Linked DNA regions of Homo sapiens: regions 1, 2, 3, 4, 5 and 6 are each linked to region 7. The links are contacts of gene promoters, found by promoter capture Hi-C in blood cells and fetal thymus (Javierre and others, 2016). All regions are on one chromosome and are shown on one strand. Each heading gives the region's core, a stretch centred on a gene start or on the middle of the fragment in contact. The rest is flanking DNA. Distances are from core to core; before and after follow the strand shown.

The links. The method cuts DNA at HindIII sites, captures the fragments that hold promoters and counts their contacts. A CHiCAGO score of 5 or more calls a contact.
Region 1: a fragment that was not itself captured here is called in contact with the fragment with the promoter of CTU1 in region 7 in 1 of 17 cell types (naive CD4 T cells); the score reaches 5.1 in naive CD4 T cells.
Region 2: the fragment with the promoter of ZNF784 here is called in contact with the fragment with the promoter of CTU1 in region 7 in 3 of 17 cell types (total CD4 T cells, naive CD8 T cells and activated CD4 T cells); the score reaches 5.5 in total CD4 T cells.
Region 3: a contact is called between a fragment that was not itself captured here and the fragment with the promoter of CTU1 in region 7, in 1 of 17 cell types (activated CD4 T cells). The highest score is 6.6, in activated CD4 T cells.
Region 4: a fragment that was not itself captured here is called in contact with the fragment with the promoter of CTU1 in region 7 in 2 of 17 cell types (naive CD8 T cells and naive CD4 T cells); the score reaches 6.9 in naive CD8 T cells.
Region 5: a fragment that was not itself captured here is called in contact with the fragment with the promoter of CTU1 in region 7 in 2 of 17 cell types (non-activated CD4 T cells and activated CD4 T cells); the score reaches 5.6 in non-activated CD4 T cells.
Region 6: a contact is called between a fragment that was not itself captured here and the fragment with the promoter of CTU1 in region 7, in 1 of 17 cell types (naive CD4 T cells). The highest score is 5.4, in naive CD4 T cells.

The regions. Positions count from the first base shown.
Region 1 is chr19:54,187,135-54,189,834 of GRCh38, forward strand. It overlaps MBOAT7 (membrane bound acylglycerophosphatidylinositol O-acyltransferase MBOAT7), which reads right to left and starts at 2,446. Exons shown (of 8, transcript NM_024298.5): 1 at 2,204-2,446; 2 at 1,299-1,377; 3 at 1,083-1,212; 4 at 27-153. The coding sequence starts at 1,374. It also overlaps a transcript of TSEN34 not described here. RefSeq lists enhancers at 1,774-2,459, 2,460-2,700. The HindIII fragment of the contact is 2,118 bases long and covers 392-2,509 here.
Region 2 is chr19:55,623,145-55,625,844 of GRCh38, forward strand. ZNF784 (zinc finger protein 784) reads right to left here and starts at 1,422. Exons shown (of 2, transcript NM_203374.2): 1 at 1,340-1,422. The coding sequence starts at 1,417. RefSeq lists enhancers at 1,403-1,902, 1,653-1,802 and silencers at 1,403-1,452, 1,523-1,582. The HindIII fragment of the contact is 2,172 bases long and covers 1-1,745 here.
Region 3 is chr19:55,110,124-55,112,879 of GRCh38, forward strand. It overlaps PPP1R12C (protein phosphatase 1 regulatory subunit 12C), which reads right to left. Exons shown (of 22, transcript NM_017607.4): 2 at 2,542-2,672; 3 at 2,344-2,462. Among named protein-coding and RNA genes, the nearest start is that of PPP1R12C, 6.1 kb to the right of the region's middle. The HindIII fragment of the contact is 402 bases long and covers 1,306-1,707 here.
Region 4 is chr19:54,437,573-54,440,272 of GRCh38, forward strand. No RefSeq gene overlaps it. Among named protein-coding and RNA genes, the nearest start is that of LENG8-AS1, 10 kb to the right of the region's middle. The HindIII fragment of the contact is 1,153 bases long and covers 720-1,872 here.
Region 5 is chr19:54,205,047-54,207,837 of GRCh38, forward strand. It overlaps RPS9 (ribosomal protein S9), which reads left to right. Exons shown (of 5, transcript NM_001013.4): 4 at 1,230-1,416; 5 at 2,352-2,601. The coding sequence ends at 2,529. Among named protein-coding and RNA genes, the nearest start is that of RPS9, 5.6 kb to the left of the region's middle. RefSeq lists enhancers at 780-1,288, 1,796-2,303, 2,304-2,791. The HindIII fragment of the contact is 3,025 bases long and covers 30-2,791 here.
Region 6 is chr19:54,459,535-54,462,234 of GRCh38, forward strand. LENG8 (leukocyte receptor cluster member 8) reads left to right here. Exons shown (of 16, transcript NM_052925.4): 16 at 1,232-2,482. The coding sequence ends at 1,394. It overlaps LENG9 (leukocyte receptor cluster member 9), which reads right to left. Exons shown (of 1, transcript NM_001301782.2): 1 at 2,198-2,700. The coding sequence ends at 2,556. Among named protein-coding and RNA genes, the nearest start is that of LENG9, 2.9 kb to the right of the region's middle. The HindIII fragment of the contact is 2,076 bases long and covers 368-2,443 here.
Region 7 is chr19:51,107,156-51,109,855 of GRCh38, forward strand. CTU1 (cytosolic thiouridylase subunit 1) reads right to left here and starts at 1,254. Exons shown (of 3, transcript NM_145232.4): 1 at 1,192-1,254. RefSeq lists an enhancer at 1,220-1,549. The HindIII fragment of the contact is 4,633 bases long and covers 1-2,700 here.

The DNA.
Region 1 (2,700 bases), core at 201-2,700, 3.1 Mb after region 7:
GGGGAGTGGCAAGCCCCGAGTCTGACCTTCAGCGTCAGCAGCAGCTGGACGGCATTGGTGAAGGGCGTGGGAGTGGGCAGGCCCAGGAGGCTGAGGGCTCGGAAGAACAGGAGATAGGAGAAAGTCCAGGCCAGAGCCAGGGCGTGGCAGGAGCTGGGCAAAAGCAGGAGGCGCACTGTGTTGGGCACAGAAGTCTCGGCCTTGGCCACTCACTCCACGAGTCCAGCCACCAATCCTCCCCCAGCTCTCCCCATTCGTTTAGAGACAGAAACACAGAAGGGCAGAGAGGACAGGAGGGTGGATGTAGGGACCGAATGAGTATGATTGAAACAGTGGGAGAAGAGGCTCAGCCACATAGAAACACACACCAACAGAGAATGAGGTTAAGAGAAGCTTCGGGTGAAGACCCTGCAATCCTCCACTTTTTCTTTATTTCCGAGGTCCAGGGCTCAAGAAGAGAGAGGTGGATATGAATGAATATGAACGGTGGCCAGGCCAGCAGACACACTGTCCACCTCTCTCCATGACATGGATGTAGCGGACTGGGACAAACACACAGGGACCAGACGCAGAAGGCAGGGGAGAAAGAAAAGCAGATGAAGGCCGGATGCGGTGGCTCACGCCTGTAATCCCAGCACTTTGGAAGGCTGAGGTGGGCAGATCACAAGGTCAGGAGTTCGAGATCAGCCTGACCAACATGGAGAAACCCCAGCTCTATTAAAAATTCAAGATTAGCCAGGCATGGTGGAGCATGCCTGTAATCCCAGCTACTTGGGAGGCTGAGGCAAGAGAATCGCTTGAACCCGGGAGGTGGAGGTTGCAGTGAGCCAAGATCGTGCCACTGAACTGCAGCCTGGGCAACAGGAGCGAAACTCCATCTCAGAAAGAAAGAAAGAAAGAAAGAAAGAAAGAAAGAAAGAAAGAAAGAAAGAAAGACAAACAAACAAACATGAAACAGAGAAATGAGCTGATCAACAAGAGACAGCTAGACATGAGGCAGAAGCTGAAAAAGACTCAAAGAGGAAACAGGTTGCTTCCCCCTCTCCCCTCCTCTCCCTCTCCTCCCTCCACCAAATTCTCACCAGGGCTGGGCCTGAATGAGGGCCCAGGTCCCGAGGATGGTGACCAGAGAATGCAAAGTGTGGGGGCCACAGGTGAACAGGGTGAGCCCCAGGCCCACAGCGGCTGCTCCCCATCTCTTCAGCCCAGGACCTGCAGGGGGAAGGGACAGCATAAGCCTGGAACCTTCCAGAGGGTCCCCCCCCTTTATTTTCCACTGGGGAGGGAGCCTGACTCACCGGCTTTCTTAAAGAGGAAGCCGATGGGGATGGAGATAAGAAGAACCACTAGATACGTCCATTCTTCAGGCGACATGGTCTGGGGGAGGGGCAGAGATTCACAGTGAGAACCCAGGAATCCAGGCCCCCTGCCTCCTCCCTCTTCGAGGATCCAGGAACCCAGCCTTCTAGACCCCAGTTTTTGAGGATGATGGAGTATGAGCCTCAGCTCCTCTCCTTTGAGAACCTAGCAACCCAGACTCCAGCCCCTTCCTCCTTGGAGGAGACAGGAATCCACCCCCAGCCCCTCCTTTGAGCGCACAGGCCTCCAGCTCTCCTGTCCTTGGAGAACCCAGGAAAGTGTGGGGATCTCCCAGCACCCAAGCCCCTCCTTTGCGAACGCAGAAATCAAAGCTACTCCCCGCACCCATACTGGGGACCCAGATTTGAAGACGCCCCTCTTTTAAAAACCCAGAAACGGCACCCCTCCCGGACCCTTCCTCTTCGACAGCCCAGGAATCTAGACCTCCGAGCCCCCTCTTCCAGCGAGGATCCAGGAACCCAGACCCCCTCTTTGGATCCCCCATCCCCCGGCCCTTGTGAAACCAGATATCCGGACCCCCCAGCCCTTCTCCTTCGAGACCACCCAGAGGAGCCCGGGTCTCCAACCTGCACCTCCTTCGGAGCTCCACACCCCTCTCCTACTGAGAACCCGGGGATCGAACACCCTCCCCTCCCCAGGCCCAGGCCCAGGCCCAGCCCCAACCCGTCCCGCGCACCCCAGCGCATCCCCGGCAGAGCCACAGGCGGTTGCGCCAGCCCCGAGTTCCAACGCGCCTCCGGGGCCGCCCCGCACCCGCCAGCCCGCAGAGACCCTGCCGCCGTGTAACCTCGCCTCGCCACTGGGCGCCGCCACCCTGGCCCACCTGAGCTGCTCGCCGGGCAGGAGGCGGCCGAGCAGTCCCAGCCCGCTTGCCGCCGCAGCTCCGGCCACGCCTCCCCCGCCCAGCGCGCCCCCGCGCCGCCTGCTCCTTCTGGGCGCCCGCCGGGCTGCGCAGATCAGGCCGGGGAAGAAGCCACGGTCAGGGCCCCGGGCGGGCAGGGAAGAAGCCCCGGAGCAGAAGCCGAGAGCGCGAGTCGGCAACGGGATTCGAGTCCAGGTCCACACTGGGATCCGAGCTCCGAGTACGTGAAGGGGCGGGCCTTCGGGCTCGGAACAAGGAGGAGCCAAAAGCTTTGGACCCGAAGGGGAACAGACGGGCTCTGGAAAGGAGGCGGGGTCTGGAGCTCGGCGTGAGGAATGAGGCGGGGTCTCCCTTCGGGTTCCTTCGGGCACAATCGGGAGCTTGAGTTCTCCGGAAGCGGGGCCACAAACTTCGGCTCACTTCGGCAATAGTCGAGAACGGAGAGCTGAGGCCACTGT
Region 2 (2,700 bases), core at 172-2,671, 4.5 Mb after region 7:
CAGCTCAGGCGACAGAACAAGACTCCATCTTAGACAGCAAAACAAACAAAAATTATTATTATTATTTTTAATGTAGAGGGAGTCCCACTATGTTGCCCAGGCTGGTCTCCAACTACTGGGCTCAAGAGATCCTTCTGGCTCTGCCTCCTAAAGTGCTGGGATTGCAGGCGTGAGCCGCCGCGCCCGGCCCATCCTCCAGGATTCTGTTGTATCCTCATCAACATTTCCTCTCCTGTCCAAAATATATCATGGATCCCACCTTTTGTCCTCCACCCTAGTTAAAGCCCCATCACTTGGCGCCTCCAAAATTGAAAAACCCAAGGGCATCTCTGTTCCTATTTCTGCTGGCTTGTAACCCACCTCCCAGGAATAGCCTGAAGGTCTTTTGAAAATGTAAATCAGATCAAGTCATTTTTCGCACTCAAAACCCTCCAGTGGCTCCAAATGACTTATCCCAAATCGTCACTATAATATCTGTGGCGATGTAGCTCCACTTATCTCTCTGACCCCAGCTTAAACATAAGCCGGCACCCAGCTGACTTCTCTCGTCTAAATTTAGCTGCCCCACCCCTACTCTTGGCTCAATTTATAGAAATTGGCTCAATTTTTATTTCCTTTATAGAACATATCACAGTAACTCTCCTTTATTGTCTCTCTCCTCTCAAGAGACTGCAGGCTCCAAAAGAACACAACCCTTGTCTGTCTTGGTCACTTCTCTATTTACAGAGCCGAAGTAGGAGCTCAGTAAATGTTTGTTGAATGAATGAATGTCCTCAATTAGTCTAATTCTGAGTGGGGTAACGTGGAGGAAGTTCCAAAGTCACCTAGACCACCCACTTCTACCCCCAAATTCTCCCTTGGGCATTCGAGAAGCATCACTAAGACCCTTGAAGAATTATCCCCTACCCCGACATAGGTGCTCCAATCATAATCCCCCACGTTTTTCAGGGTCACCTTCCCAACCTTCTACCCTAGAATTAGCCCTAGAATTTATGAGGCCCCGCCCCTTACAAGGCTCCACCCAAATTATGCAAATTATCCCTGGTAAGCCCCCTTCCCTGGACCCAAACCCGTCCCACAAGACAACACCGTCCTCAGACTCCGCCCCCATCCAGGCCCCGCCCACCACCCATAGGTCCCTCCCCCACCCCGCCCACCATGACATAGTCTCCTCCCCTGCCCCGCCCCTCGCGAAACCACAAGAAGCCCCACCCCCAGGGCCATAGCACTAAATACCTCCCTCGCCCACCCCCTCATAGGCCACGCCCCGGACCCGCCCCCCACACTACGACCTCCTCCCACCTCGAGCCCCACGCCCAGGCCCCTTCCTTGCCCGCACCAGGTCCAGTGGCTCCTGGGATCGCGACTCCGGAGTCGGTGAGCTCCGACTCTGGGCCTCTGGGCGCGCAGCGGCCATCTTGTGCCCAAGCCCCGCCCCCAAGGCCAATGTTCGCTCTGAAAGGGGGTGGGGCTCGAACTGGCGTAAGAGCTACTGCGCAGGCGCAGTGCGGGGCTGCGAGGGGGCGTGGTGCAGCAGGGGGCGTGGCGGGGCGGGGCGTGGCGGCTGAGCCCGGGAGAATGTGAGTTGTTCCCTCTCTAATTACCTGTCTGTCCCTCCGAGGGTACGCTCTGTGTGGCGCTAGGATGCCTGTAACACCCTGGGAACAAATCCGAACGTTCCTTCTAAACCAACGCAGGCCGACTCGAGGCTCTGGCTGTCAGGGGAACCTCAGCAGAACTGAAGAAGCTTTGCTTTGTTTCCACGGTAAACGTTTTTGTGATTACCTCTGCACTGCTCATGACAACGTAATGACGCCAAGTTTATAAACGTCGGTGTAGGCCGGGTGCGGTGGCTCATGCCTGTATTCTCAGCTACTCGGGAGGCTGAGGTGGGAGGATCGCTTGAGGCCGGGAGGTCGAGGCTGCAGTGAGCCATGATCTCGCCACTGCATGCAGCCTGAGTGACAGAGACTCTGTCAAAAAAAAAAAAAAAAAAGGCAGTGTGGAGAAAAATATTCAGTAAACAGCAACACAGGTGGTCCTGGGAGGACGCAAAAACCCGCAAGCTGATGTTATGTTTGGGAGGAAAGAGCTCAAAAACGCGGGGTTTTCAGCAGCATCAAGGACGGGGCTCTTCTTAGCTGCCCCGTTTAGTCATTCTGGTGGTATCACCTTGGATAAGTCACTACACTTCTCTGGACCATTTCTCTTTCTTTTGTGTAGCACTGTAGAAGCATTGTGACAAACCACTGAGAAGAGACATGGAAGAGTTTGGAAACATCTTTAAATAGTTTTCTTGAAAGGGCAGGATAGGAGATACTTAAACATGATCCTAAGCATGATCATTTCATTCATAAATATATATGAAATTATATTTTGTGATATGTTGGTATAAAATAAAGATAAACACCACTTAGGCTGAATTATCTCCTCCTCCTCCTTTCTTCTTCTTTTATAGAGATGGGGATCTTGCTGTCTTGCCTTGCCCAGGCTGGTCTTGAACTCCTAGCCTTAAGCGATCCTTCTGCCTTGGTCTTCCAAAGCTATATTTCCCTTCTTTTCTTTTGATTTTAAAATAATTTTTTTTTTTTTGAGATGGAGTCTCACTCTGTCGCCCAGGCTGGAGTGCAGTGGCATGATCATGGCTCACTGCAACCTCTGCCTCCCGGGCTCAAGCGATTCTCCTGCCTCAGCCTCTTG
Region 3 (2,756 bases), core at 257-2,756, 4.0 Mb after region 7:
CCATTCCCGGCCTCCCTGGGGTCCAAGGGAAAAGGAGGACTGATCCAGACAGAGGGAGCCTAAATCACCCAGATCTGGATCCCTAGCTGGGCCCTGAACCAGAGCGGGAGAGGCTACAAAGAATGTCAAGGAGAAACGCAGGCAACAGTGTAGCATCAAGGTTGGTGCAGTGGGTGAGAGTGTAGCATCAAGGTTGGTGCGGTGGGTGAGAGTGTAGCATCAAGGTTGGTGCGGTGGGTGAGAGTGTAGCATCAAGGTTGGTGCGGTGGGTGAGAGTGTAGCATCAAGGTTGGTGCGGTGGGTGAGAGTGTAGCATCAAGGTTGGTGCGGTGGGTGAGAGTGTAGCATCAAGGTCAACACAGGGGGTAGCGTGTTGCATCCCTACTGTGGTTCTGCAGGAGGTTTTCCTTGTGGCAGGAGATACCTGCTGTGCATCAGGCGAAGATGTACAATGCCTGCAACACAGTCTCAGAATGGCCGGGCTCACGCCTGTAATCCCAACACTTTGCGAGGCCGAGGCCAGCAGATCGCCTGAGGTCAGGAGTTGGAGACCAGCCTGGTCAACATGGTGAAACCCCATCTCTATTAAAAATGCAAAATTAGCTGGGCATGCTGGCTCACGCCTGTAATCTCAGCTACCCAGAAGCTGAGGCAGGAGAATCGCTTGAACCCAGGAGGTGGAGGTTGCAGTGAGCCGAAATCATGCCATTGCACTCCAGCCTGGGCAAAAAGTGAAACTCTGTTTCAAAAAAAAAAAAAAGGCTCAGGAATGGAAAGGCAGGGGTGGGGTGGTAAGAAAGGAAGGGAGAGATGGAGGGAAAAAAACAGGAGGAGAAAGGATAGGAAAAAATGTGTTTATGTCTATACCTGGGAAGAGATCGCAAGGGAGGGACAGAGAGAAGGAACACAAATCTATCAAAAAGTTAAAAGCTGATGATTCTATACTGTATGATTCCCTTTATGTGAAGTGTACAAAACAGCAAATCCACAGACAGAAGGCAGAGAGGGCTTCGTGGGGTGGGGGGGAGGGGGGGGTGCATGGTTGGGGGTGATGGCTAAGCGGTTGCAGGGTTTCGTTGGGGGATGATGAAAATGTTCTACAACCAATGTGGTCATAAATGCCCGACCCCGTGAATAGACTAAAAAGCACTGAAGTGTGCACTTTGGGTGAATTGTAGGGTAGGTGAATTACATCTCAAAAAGCTGTCTAAAAAACAAAAACAAAAAAGAAAAAGCACTGGCGAATCTTAGTGAAAGTCATATGGGTAGTCACATGCTATTGCTTCAACTTTTCTGTAAATCTGAAGCTTTCCCAAAATAAAAAGTTGGAGGAGGAAGGAGACAGAATCCAGGTCCAGGGCTGATTTGACCCACTCCCCATTTCAACCAAAGAGGGGCTCCCGAACCTCAGATCTCCGCCGTCACGTGTCCCACTAGCTAGTCCTCCCGCATGGCTCTCGTGGACCCCTGAACCCACGCGGAATCCTATCCTTTCAGCCTGGCCAGCGGCCCCGTCAGGACAGCCGCGTCAGAAGTCTCGGAGGCTGCCGGTATCTCATTTCCTCGTCAGTCTCCCTTTCCTTCCACACGGTCCCCTGGAGTCTGCCGGGAACCATGCTCACACCCTTCCACTCCAACCCAGCCAGACCCTGACAACCACCCCATGAAGCGGCACCAGTGGTCCTGTTTTAGGAAATCAGGGAAGCAAGCTTCAGGGACGTGCCTGGAGTCACCAGTCACAGGCAGAGCTGGGAGGCAAGCCCAGGACTTTAGAAGACATGCTGGGGACCCAGGGATCCTGTGTGGCCATCACACACCTGCTAGAAGCAACACCCCTTCCCTAGAAAAATGAACCTGGCCAGACACAGTTTCAGGGGCTCCTGGACCCCATATGAAGGCTCCTGGGGTACGATGAGTCTCAGAGGACAGGGAGACCAGTCCCTGGCAACCCCTGCATGCCCCTACTCCCCCCCAAGTAAACGCATCCCCTCCCAGAAAGACCTGCGGCAGGGTTCCAGCAATCCTACCTAACGCACTCCTGGGTGAGTCCCTCCACCCACCCACCCCGCCCCGGCATTCCAATCCCCTCAGTTACTCAGGGGGATTGACAGTCCCAGTTGGTAGGGGTTTGAGTTCTCATCCTGTGCGTGTGCTGGGCTCCAAGCAATCCTGGAGGCAGGCCCCTACACCCCCATTTCACAGGTGAGGAAACTGAGGCACAAAGAAAGACAATCCTAGGAAGCAGGGTCAGCCTCGGTGCCCAGGCCGCCTCTAAAGCTCTCAGCCTGGAGACCACGGGTGAGGAGGTGTCCCCCACCCCACACACAGCACACCAGAGCCCACCTCGGCGGGCGATCTCCGCCTTCAGCAGCCCCTCCATGGCGTCCGACTCGGCCAGGTCCAGGGGCAGGTCCCCGTCACTGTTGACGGCGGCGATGTTGGCCCCGTGGCTCAGGAGGTACCTGGGGGTGGGGGCTGGTCAGGGCTGAGGGTCCAGGCCCCCACCCCGACCAGGTCCTGCCCGGCCCTCCCTTGCCTCACCTGGCGATATCTAGGTAGCCACAGGAGGCGGCCACGTGCAGTGGCGTCCAGCCCTCGTTGTCTGCCTGGTTCACAGTGGCGCCCTGCTCCACCAAGAAGCGCACCACCTCCAGGTTCTCATCAATGCAGGCCTGGGGGTGGGAAACAGCCGTCAGCCGCACCTACCCCAGCCACGGTGTCCCAGCAAGTCGGGACTCCAGAGGGAGCCACGAAAA
Region 4 (2,700 bases), core at 46-2,545, 3.3 Mb after region 7:
CTCGATCTCCTGACCTCGTGATCCGCCCGTCTCGGCCTCCCAAAGTGCTGGGAATACAGGCGTGAGCCACCGCGCCCGGCCAAGACCCTGCCTCTTAAAAAAAAAAAAAAAAAAAGACAAAAAACAGAGAGAGGCTGGCTGCGGTGGCTCATGACTGTAATCCCAGCATTTTGAGAGGCCAAGGTGGGTGGATCCCTTGAGGCCAGGAGTTTGAGAGCAGAGTGGCCAACATGGTGAAACCCCGTCTCTACTTAAAGAAAAAAAAAATTAGCTGGGCATGGTGGCACAGGTCTGTAAGCCCAGCTACTCGGGAGGCTGAGGCAGGAGAATTGCTTGAACCCGGGAGGTGGAGGTTGCACCACTGTACTCCAGCCTGGGAGATCAAGTGAGACTCCATCTCAGAAAAAAACAAAACAAAACAAAACAAACCAGAGAAATTAGGAGAATATTTGTATATTGTCTGCATGTCATGTATCTGGGTAGGGAAAATGGGGAGGGAGGAGTTTAAGCAGGAGATCATAAAACCAGAAAGGAAAAGATAGCTTAGTTGGCAAATTATAGATTGAAAAACATACCGTAAAGTCAAATGGCAAATTGACAGACTGGGGAACAGTGAGTGTGTGCGTGCGTGTGTGTGTGTGTGTGTGTGTGTGTGTGTGTGTGTGTATGTTAACAGTTATGATGCAGAAATGTTATTCTTAAAAGATATAATCTACAAAAGCTTTCATAAACTAAGAAAAAGACAACCCATTTAAAAGTAATCAATTGAGTTGAATACTCAATAAAAATTCCAACATCAGTAAACAGACAAAAAGATTCAAACTCTAATAATTGGGAAATGCAATTTGAAAGAATGAGAAACTACACTTTTTCACTACCTAGACACAATGAAATTAACAAGAGTGGTGATGTCCTGGGCGGGCGAGGACCTAGAGGAACAGGCACTCAAAACACTTCTCCTGAGGCTGTGAGCTGCCACCATCCCTTGAAAAAAAAAAAAAATGCGCTTGTATGTGATCAGATCAAAACTGCATACACCCCATGCCCCAACAATCCTGCTTTTGGGAATTGATTTACAGAAAAAGACACACAGGCTTCTGAAGACTTCTATTTAGAGCTGCCTGTTACAACGATACCACTTTGATCAGCTAAACCCTGAAAACAAACATGCACAAAAAGAGAAGTCCAATAACTGACTGCACAGCAGGGCTCTCTGGAAGAAACCAGCTCTTGGCTGAGTTGAGGATGTGAGGGAAAAGCCTGGCAGAGAGGAGCTATCAGAGCAGGGTGTGGCAGACAGCAGTGGCAGAGTGGACTGAAGGAGAGGGGCCTGCACAGTGAAGGGCCCAGCTTATCATTCAAGGCACCCCAGGCCACCATCCTGGCCCTGCTTTTCATGACCTTCACGGATATGGGAAAGTCACTTGACCCGTTAGACCTCGGTTGCCTCTTTGATCAAACGGGTATCAGAAATCCAAAATTCCAAAATCCACAGATCCAAAGAGCTCCAAAGTCAAGCCATCCCCAAGCTCATTGGGCAGGAAAACCTGACCTGTGTTGGTGGGAGATGACTTACAGACATGACTGACACGCTTGGTGTGAACGTTCACATACTTCCCTGCAGAAAAGTTAACCAGGCTGCTGCACACTGCTGTGCTGAGCACTGAGGGTGCCGTGTGCCCTGTGGAGTAGAGATCATATTGCCTTTGCAACTGAAAAATCCTGAATCTCAACACACACCTGGCTCCGAGGGGATCGAGTTGGTGCTTGGTGACCCACAGTGCCAGATGCTGGTGTACAGCGTGGGGCCTGCTGCTGCTCTGTGCCTGTCAATCATTTCTATTTTGTGTACTGCAAGGAGCGTTCAGAGGAAGCTTTAGATATGTGGGCCTGACGGTGGGAATAAAAATCAACTGCAATTTCAGGGAGGGGTTCTGGGGGCCACATGCGTTCACTCACTTTTTCCTAACCATGTGGGCTGTCTGCCCCAGGCCCGGCCCTGCTGCTATGCTGACTTCTTTCCTCTCAAACACTGCCCTCTAGTGCCCCTGAGCCCATTTCCCAAGCACAGGCATCCGCTGGCTGTTGGGCGGCTGCAAAGTACCTTGAGACTCAGCTGCTTGATCTCCCATGCCAATGAGCCTGGGGGTGATCTCTCAACAAGAAGTTGGCCGGGCACCCTGGCTCACGCCTGTAATCCCAGCACTGTGGGAGGCTGGGGCAGGCGATCACCTGAGGTCAGGAGTTTGAGACCAGCCTGGCCAACACGGTGAAACCCCATCTCTACTAAACACAAAAATTAGCCGGGCATGGTGGCGGGCGCCTGCAATCCCAGCTACTCAGGAGGCTGAGGCAGGAGAATCACCTGAACCCGGGATGCGGAGCTTGCAGTGAGCCGAGATCGCGCCACTGCACTCCAGCCTGGGCGACAGAGCAAGACTCCGTCTCAAAAAAAAAAAAAAAAAAAAAAAAGGCATTTTACCCAAACTTTACAAAAGGAAAATCCAGTGTTATTTTTAGAATGTTACCTATGGGGGCTTCCACTGCGACCAGGATGGAGTCACAGAGACTGGACTTGACCCCCCAAAAATAGAGTAAATACAAGAAAACAACAGTGGTCAAGACTCTACCAAGAAAGTGATCCCTGAGGAACGGGAAACATCAAGGCAAGCCCTAAAATTGCCGCTGGGTCCTGTTGCA
Region 5 (2,791 bases), core at 292-2,791, 3.1 Mb after region 7:
TGCCTGATGCATGTAGATCTATTTATGAAAGCTTGCTTGAATGGTTTGCTGTAACTAGTAAGAGCCACTTTTTATAAAAGTGCACATAAGGAAAAAAGGTTGAGGTGTTTACCCCAGTCAAGGGGCAGTTGATTTGCTGAAGGCGTGTGGGATTATAGCAGTGAGCGGGAGCCTAGGGGATGGCGTTTGCCCCCAGGGCCCTGGGGCTGTGGGCAAGGGCAGTCCAGAGTATTAGCTAGAAGCCATGGCTTTGGACAGGGTAAGGAGCAAGCCGTCCTGAGCCTGGGGTTGGAAGAAAGGTGTAGTAGGGCATCTGTTGGATATTTTATGCAGTGCATTGTTAGGTTATATACATACTAGATATATTTTTGGTGGAAAATTTTGTACAGAATAGTAAAATGAATGACATGTACCTAGCTGGAAAAATTCTAGTGTTAGAAATTACTTTTCTCTCCTTAAAAGATGTAGATACTGCTATTTATGGCACGGAATGTGATTCAATCTCACATCTGCTTAATCAGAAGAGCTGTCTGGGCTGAGGATATGAACTCTTCAGCACTGTGCTTTGTTACGGTGGTAGTAGCTTAATAGCAGCTGCATTTGGTCTTTTGCAGACTGAGTCCTTGTAAGGAGGTGATTTCCTTTACTCTTGCTAAGAATGTGGAGCGAGGGATGTATGCTCTCAGATGAGGAGGCAGGTGTATTTTGCCCTCCTGTCATCTGCAGTTTACTATGAATGATGACCTGACAACCATAGGGTAGTTTGGTTTTTTGTATTGTTTTGTTTTGTGACAGGGCCTCACTCTGTCGCCCAGGCTGGAGTGCAGTGGCCCCATCTCAGGTCACTGCAACCTCCGCCTCCTGGGTTCAAGCAGTTTTCCTTCCTCAGCCTCCTGAATAGCTGGGATTACAGGCAGTGCGCCAACGGCCTGGCTAATTTTTCGTAATCTTAGTGGAGACGGGCTTTCGCCATGTTGGCCGGGCTGGTCTCTCAAACTCCTGACCTCAAGTGATCCGTCTCGGACTCCCAAAGTGCTGGGATTACAGGTGTGAGCCACCACTCCCAGCCCGTAGGGTGGTTTTGACAGTGACATGGGTCACGGTGATGGCGCTGTACTACTTGTGCCTCACCGCCGCGGCATGGAGCTACCAAGAGGCGGAGCCAGGATTTGAACCCAAGAAGCCTGAGGTCAGAAGGCGGAATCAGTGTTTCCTCCCACTCTTCCCAGGCAACGCCCTGCTGCGGCGGCTGGTCCGCATTGGGGTGCTGGATGAGGGCAAGATGAAGCTGGATTACATCCTGGGCCTGAAGATAGAGGATTTCTTAGAGAGACGCCTGCAGACCCAGGTCTTCAAGCTGGGCTTGGCCAAGTCCATCCACCACGCTCGCGTGCTGATCCGCCAGCGCCATATCAGGTACCACCTCGGATGGGCACCTGAATCTTCCTCCACCTGCCCCTCTGATGGTTGCCCTCACTAAGCCTGCTGTCCCTATCTCCTATGCAGCCCTCGGAGGTGATGGGTGTGAACTCACCCAGAGGGTACAGATTCACCCTTGCACACAGCTCACCAGGGAGCTGGGGCAGCCTCTTGCCCCAATAGCCCAGCGCAAGGGTCACTGCGGCTCTAGCCGTACACCTTGTGAAGGCCTCTGCCAGGCATGTGGGCAGCTGGACAGGTAACAGCTCTTGGTGTCCCCAGTGGAGGGAGAGAACCAGCCTCACCTCGCTTGGGTGGTGGGTTCAGCTGTCTCCTGGCCCGCTTGTGAAGTTGATTCCAGACCCCGATCCATGACTGCGTTCTGGGTACTCAGTGTGCCCTTTCTGTAATGTGGCACCATTGAGGGGGAGGAGCTGTACAGAAAGAGGGCAAGATGTTTGCGTTTAGAATCTTCGCCCCAGCCCTTCACTAACCCTGTGAGCCGTAGGCAGAGCCTTGTGTGTCAATGCTTTCGTCGGAGACGTAGCCTCGGGTTGCTGTGTTATTGTGGGCATTGCTGCTGCACGTGGTAATACAGCTCAGTGTCAGGTGTGGGGTTCACGATATTTCAGACTCGGAACTTGGGGGCTCTCACATGGCCATCTCATTTGCTTTGTGGTCTTAGGTGGGATACTTTCGGATTTCTCCTATAAAATGGGGTTGAGAAAGTCATCTGAAGCATTTTTGGGGATTAAGGTGATACCCTAAAACCCCGGAGGGCGCACGTAGGATCAGGTGCACCCTTCCTGCAGCGCCTTGGTGTCTGCAGCCGTGGCGGCCTCACGGGGTGGGTGGAGAGGAAAGAGTGGTGCGGTAGCTGGGGTTAGCGTCCGTTTCTCCTCCAGTCCACCTCACCTTGTCGCTGCTTCCAGGGTCCGCAAGCAGGTGGTGAACATCCCGTCCTTCATTGTCCGCCTGGATTCCCAGAAGCACATCGACTTCTCTCTGCGCTCTCCCTACGGGGGTGGCCGCCCGGGCCGCGTGAAGAGGAAGAATGCCAAGAAGGGCCAGGGTGGGGCTGGGGCTGGAGACGACGAGGAGGAGGATTAAGTCCACCTGTCCCTCCTGGGCTGCTGGATTGTCTCGTTTTCCTGCCAAATAAACAGGATCAGCGCTTTACAATTGGTGTGTGGGGGTCTCTCATCCTTGACTCTTTCCCCTGCTCTAAACATGCAGCCTTCCCTGGGAGGCTCACTCACTTGGGAGTGCCTACCAGCTAGTGGTCCCTGGCCTCTCAGTACTATTCTACAGTAGTGAACACACATCTTTACCAGAAACTTCTGTCATCAGGGGAGAGACGAGTGGTATTTTT
Region 6 (2,700 bases), core at 156-2,655, 3.4 Mb after region 7:
GAGGTTGTGGTCACAGCATGGGGGCCTTGAGAGCCTGGCCAGGTGGCCCTCCACGTGAGGTCATGGTCACAGCATGGAGGCCTTGAGAGCCTGGCCAGGTGGCCCTCCGTGTGAGGTCATGGTCACAGCATAGTTTGGAGCTAGGGAGGGACTGTCAGCCTGGAGGTTTGGAGACTCATTCTGGAATCTAGTGTGGGTCAAGCCAACTTCAGGGAGAGGCTGAGCCAGGGTAGGAGTCACAGGAGCAGACGAGGATGTGGGGTGCCGTGCACAGAGCTCCATGACCAGCTTGGGAAGTTAGAAGGAAGGGGAGGCAGGAGGCTGCTTAGTCTGCTGCCATGATGGGCCCCATGAATGGTGGCTCTCAAGCTTCTGTGCTACACAGGGGTGTGTGGTTGGGCGAGTGTCCTTGTTAATTGATACCTAATTGGCCTTGGTTGGGAACATAGCCATGAGTGCCCCTCGTGGGTGGGGCGCCAGTCTGTCATTGACCTCATTGTGTCAGCACCTTCCCCCCAAGGAGGCTGACCCTGCCCTGCCAGCTGAGACTGGGAGACGGAGTGGGCTCTGATCCCAGGGCTTCCAGGAAAGCTCTGGCTTTGGAGCAGAAGCGGGTTCTAGGACTTAGTGCCCCTCACTCGGTGCCTGGGTTCCTGTGTGTGTGGAAAGGGTAGGGCTGCACCCTGTGGAAGAGGGTTCAGGGAGCTCTGAGGACCTGGCTCGTGCTAGATGCTCAGTCAGTAGTGTGTTTTAGCAGCAGCCGGAAGTGACTGCTTTCAGTGTGTAGTGGTGAGTGCTAGCTGGCACCCCTGCGCCTGGCTTCCCAGACACTGTAACGCAGGGCAGGGGAGGCAGCGAGGGCTGGGTCCCCACGGTGGCCCTGGCAGCCCCGCCATCCCCATCCCCTGCCACGTGCTGCTCCCTCCATCTGGTCCCTGCCCCTCAGCCAGCGGAGGAGCCCGCTGGGCCCTTCCCTGCCCGTCCCCGCTCCTCCCTGGCCCCCGCACAGGTAAGTGAGGGTGAGGGGGGCACAGGGGACTGGGGTCACTAACCCCCCCCGGGCCCCCCCCGAGCCCCTGAGGTGGGGAGGCTGGGAGGCGGGTGGGGAGCCAGCAGGCACTGTGCTGAGGAAATCCTGTGGGCACCCGAATGGGGGGGCCTCCCCGCTCGTGGGGCCCTCCCCTGCCCTCCCGCCCGCCCGCCTCATCACCTTCTCCTCTTGTCTCCATAGCTTCCGCCCTGCGCTGCCAGTCTCCTACCTGCAGGCCGAGCTGGCCTTCGAGGGCGAGGCCGCCTGCCGGGCCTTCCTAGAGCCCCTGGGCCTGGCCTACACGGGCCCGGACAACTCCAGCATCGACTGCCGCCTCAGCCTGGCGCAGCTGTCAGCCTTCTGAGCACCCAGCGAGGAGGGGCGGGGGCAGGGGCTGCAGCCCCCAGCGCTGCCTTTGCGGATTCTGTTTTTGAGCCGTGGACTTGGGTTGTAAATTTATTTGTGGGGAGTGCGCTCCAGGAAGAGCCACCATCCCTGCCCCCGTTTTCCCACCGGGGAGTCTGTACAGAGATTTTTCTACGTTTTTATTTTTTGCCTCAGAGGGATGGGATTGGGGAGGAGGGGATGGGCAGCGGAGGGTTGGGGGCATGGTCTGCAGGCTCATCTGTGTCCGCCTTTCACTCCACTAATGCTGTCTCAGTGTTTTCTCTCTCTCTCTTTCGAGCTTGCACTCCGGTACCCGACCCGGCGCCCTGGCCCATCCCATGCCGGGGGGCCAGTGGAAAGAAGACAGGCCGTCCAGCCCGTGCCCGCCTGCGGCGGGGGCACCCAGCAAGCCCGCCCACCGCCCGCTGCCTCACCTGCTTCGCCACAGACTCTTGTTCCCAGCCCCTTGGGGCCTCCGTGTTTGGGGTGGGGGAGCTGCTTAGAGACTGTGCCCGTCCTCGGCCCCCCACCCTGAAGTGCCAGCACCACCAGCACCAGATCCTCCGCCGCCACACCGCACTGAGGACACGCCGGCCGGGCCGCCTCGTCTCAAGTTGTATAAAGTTGTCTCCGTGTCCCCTCCTCCCTCTGCCCCCAGTGTTTCTTCTGATTTTTTTTTCCCCTTTCCCTCCCTCCCTCTCCGCATTCTTCCCTTGGTTCAGCACAGGTAAAACGGTTCCCCTCCCTCCCTGCCTTCATGGATCACCAGCTCACGTCATGTTGCCTTCTCTTTTCTTTGTGTGTGTGTTTATTTAAGTTATTTTTCTTCCTCCTCTCCCTTTTCTTTTTGGCCCTCCCTCCCTCCCTCTTCTGCCATGTAACTGGAGGATGTGCTATGAGTTTGCAAACAGCTGGACTGTCAGGCTGCTTTTTTTCCAGATGTTCCTCCTCTGCCTCCCCTTCCCCTCCTCTCCCCTCCTTTTCCTTCCTTCCTTCCTTTCCTTGGAGCACTGAGCACCATTTGGAAGCTTGAGAGAAACCAAAATTAAAGAGAGAAAGAGAGAGCGTGCACGCTCCTGCTTTGTCTTTCCTGTGTGGGCTGTTTGCATCCATTGTCTCCTCCAGAGGTCTGGGGGTGTCACTCCAGGGGGATCTCAGCCAGGGGCTGGAAAGGCCCCCCTGTCCTCCCTATACGGCACAGCCAGAGTGTCTGCAGGGGCTGGCACCCCACTTCCTGGCTGAGGGTGAACTCCAGCTTGGGGAGGTGGACCTGGGAACCATGG
Region 7 (2,700 bases), core at 4-2,503:
CTCATAGGCCATGATGTGGAATTTTAGGTTTATTCAGGAGGAGATGGGAGCCTTGGGAGGTTTTTGAACAGTAAAGTGGTATGATCTGGCATGTTTTAAAAGGATTCCTAGACTGGTCAACATAGCGAGACCCCATCTCTAAAAAAATAAATAAATAAATTAGCTGCACCTGGTGGCACAGGCCTGTAGTACCAGCTACTCAGGAAGCCAAGGCAGGAGGATCACTTGAGCCCAGGAGGTCAAGGCTGCAGTGAGCCATGATCGCACCAGTGCACTCCAGCGTGGGTGATAGAGTGAGACCTTGTCTCAAATAAAAAAAGTGGGATTCGTTTGGCTGCTGTGTGGGGAGGACTGTTGGTTGTCAGGGACAAGGACAGAAGGCTGGAGGTCAGCACACTAGACAGGAGTGCTGGCAGTAGAGGTGGGAAGAAGTGAAATTTTGGATCTATTTTGAAGGTGGAGCCCACAGGACTTGTATAAGACTGATTGGAGTGGGGACTGGGGCAACGACGAGAGAAAGTGATGAAGGGTAACTTTGAGGTTCTGGCCTGAGCATTGGAGGGACGGTGGGGCCATTTTGTGAGGTGAGAAGACCAGGAATTCCATTTGGCCACGTCAGGTTTGACATGCATGTTAAGCGTCTTCCCTCAAAGACTTTATGGACCCTCGTCACTGAGTCGAGCGCCTCCACCAGGGCCCTCAGAGCTGCCCTGATCCTGACTAGCTGTCACTGGTGACAGGTCTGTCTCTCTGCTTCAAGGCAGGGACAGGGTTGGTCTGGTGCCCTCGCTCCCGCCGCCCTGCGCAGAGTCGGTGCTCAGTAAGTATCTGTAGGATGAGGGAATAATAAGTGCTCCCAGAAGAGAGGCCGCGGACCCCAGGGATGCCTCTGGATTGCAGCCTTGTCAAAAGGACAGATAATGTGTGGCATGGGGGCGGGGACAGGCAGATAGTAACATAGGGGCGGGGGCAAGCAGATGGTCTTATCCTGTCTTGGGGAAGGGAGTGGCCCGGTAAGAGACAGGCCGGACCGCAGCGTTCAAAGTGGGAATCCTGGCTACAAGGCCTCAGGGACACGGGCGCTGGGAAATCACAGAGGCCTTACGCTCGAAGAGACCCTCAACCCTCCCACGGCACCGCAACAAAGAGCCGGAGTCCACATGCCGACCCACCGCAGGAGGAAATACTCACCCGGGCAGAACTCAGTGCTGGGATGCCCACACTGCCCACCACGCGGAAGCCTGGCCCGGAAGTGACTCCGAGACTACCACTCCCATAAGGTCTTGGGGCTTTCTTGCCTAGAACTCCCAGAAGCCCATGCGACACTTCCGCTGGATGCGCCTACGGCTCCGGGGTCCCGCTTGGCCTACAACTCCCAGAAACACTTGCATTGCTCTTTCTGCCGCTCCCAAAATACACTGCTCCCCCTCCCCCCGCGTTTACTTTCTGCGCCTGCGCGCGGCCGCAGGGAGCGGCGGAGCTGCGTGTACTGTTGTCATGGCAGCGCGCTGTCACCCGGCAGGTTGCTGGATGGGCGAAGTAGTTGTATTCTGATTAACTGATTTTGTGGGATTATTATAGGATTTTAAGGGGATTACAGGGCCTATGATTTCTGCCCTTTGAGGCGGGGTTGCGGGTGGGAATTGAAGGTGGAACTGCAGGGGTTGGTCGCTAGTGTAAAAGGCGCAGATAGCGCATGCGTAGAGCAGACTTCGAGGATTGGAGTGGAACTCCGCGCGCACGCGGGGGCTGTCGTGATGCGCGTGCTGGAGACCCAGACTCTAAACAGAAGGATCCAAAGACCCTTCTCACCTAACCCAGGAGCCCAGAGGCTCAGAGACTCAGACCCTTGAGACTAAGGGGGTTAAAAACGCAGACCCCTGGCACCAAAGCACCTGAGAGAACCAGTAGACCTGGAGACAACCGTCTGCACCCTAGACACAGGGATCTGGAGGCCTCCACCCTCCCCACAAGGCCCAAGGGTCTTGAAGACCCCGGTGACTCAAATACCGGGGCACAAGGAGTTTAAGGACTCAGATATCTGAGACCCTTGAGATCCAGGTCCCCAAACCTAGGTCCTCGAAAAAACTGAGGCTCAAAATTCCTCTAGACGGCGCGGTGGCTTACACCTGTAATCCCAGCACTTTGGGAGGCCGAGGCGGGTGGATCACGAGGTCAAAAGATGGAGACCATCCTGGCCAACATGGTGAAACCTCATCTCTACTAAAAATACAAAAATTAGCTGGGCGTAGTGGTGCGCGCCTGTAGTCCCAGCTACTCGGGAGGCTGAGGCAGGAGAATGGCTTGAACCCAGAAGGCAGAGGTTGCAGTGAGCCGAGATCGCGCCACTGCACTCCAGCCTGGCCACAGAGTGAGACTCTGTCTCAAAAAAAAAAAAAAAATCCTCTAGATTAAGGGACCACCAGAGCCTTAGACTGAGATGTGGAGATGTGCAGAGAGCCCCAGGATGTGTAGGTCTACGGCCGGTGATGACGTGAGAAGGAACCCCATGCACCCTGTAGCCCATTTTTTTCCCCCATAACAGGAAACCATGATGCCTTCCTTTCATATTAAATGAGCTCCGTGAGGTCACTCTTAAGCCTTATCATGGGCCAGTTCTGTTCATCTGTGTGCGTTGGTTCATTTGTTGAATTTATTTCCTGAGGTCTCCTTGTGCCAGGCTGCCCCTGGGCTAGGTTT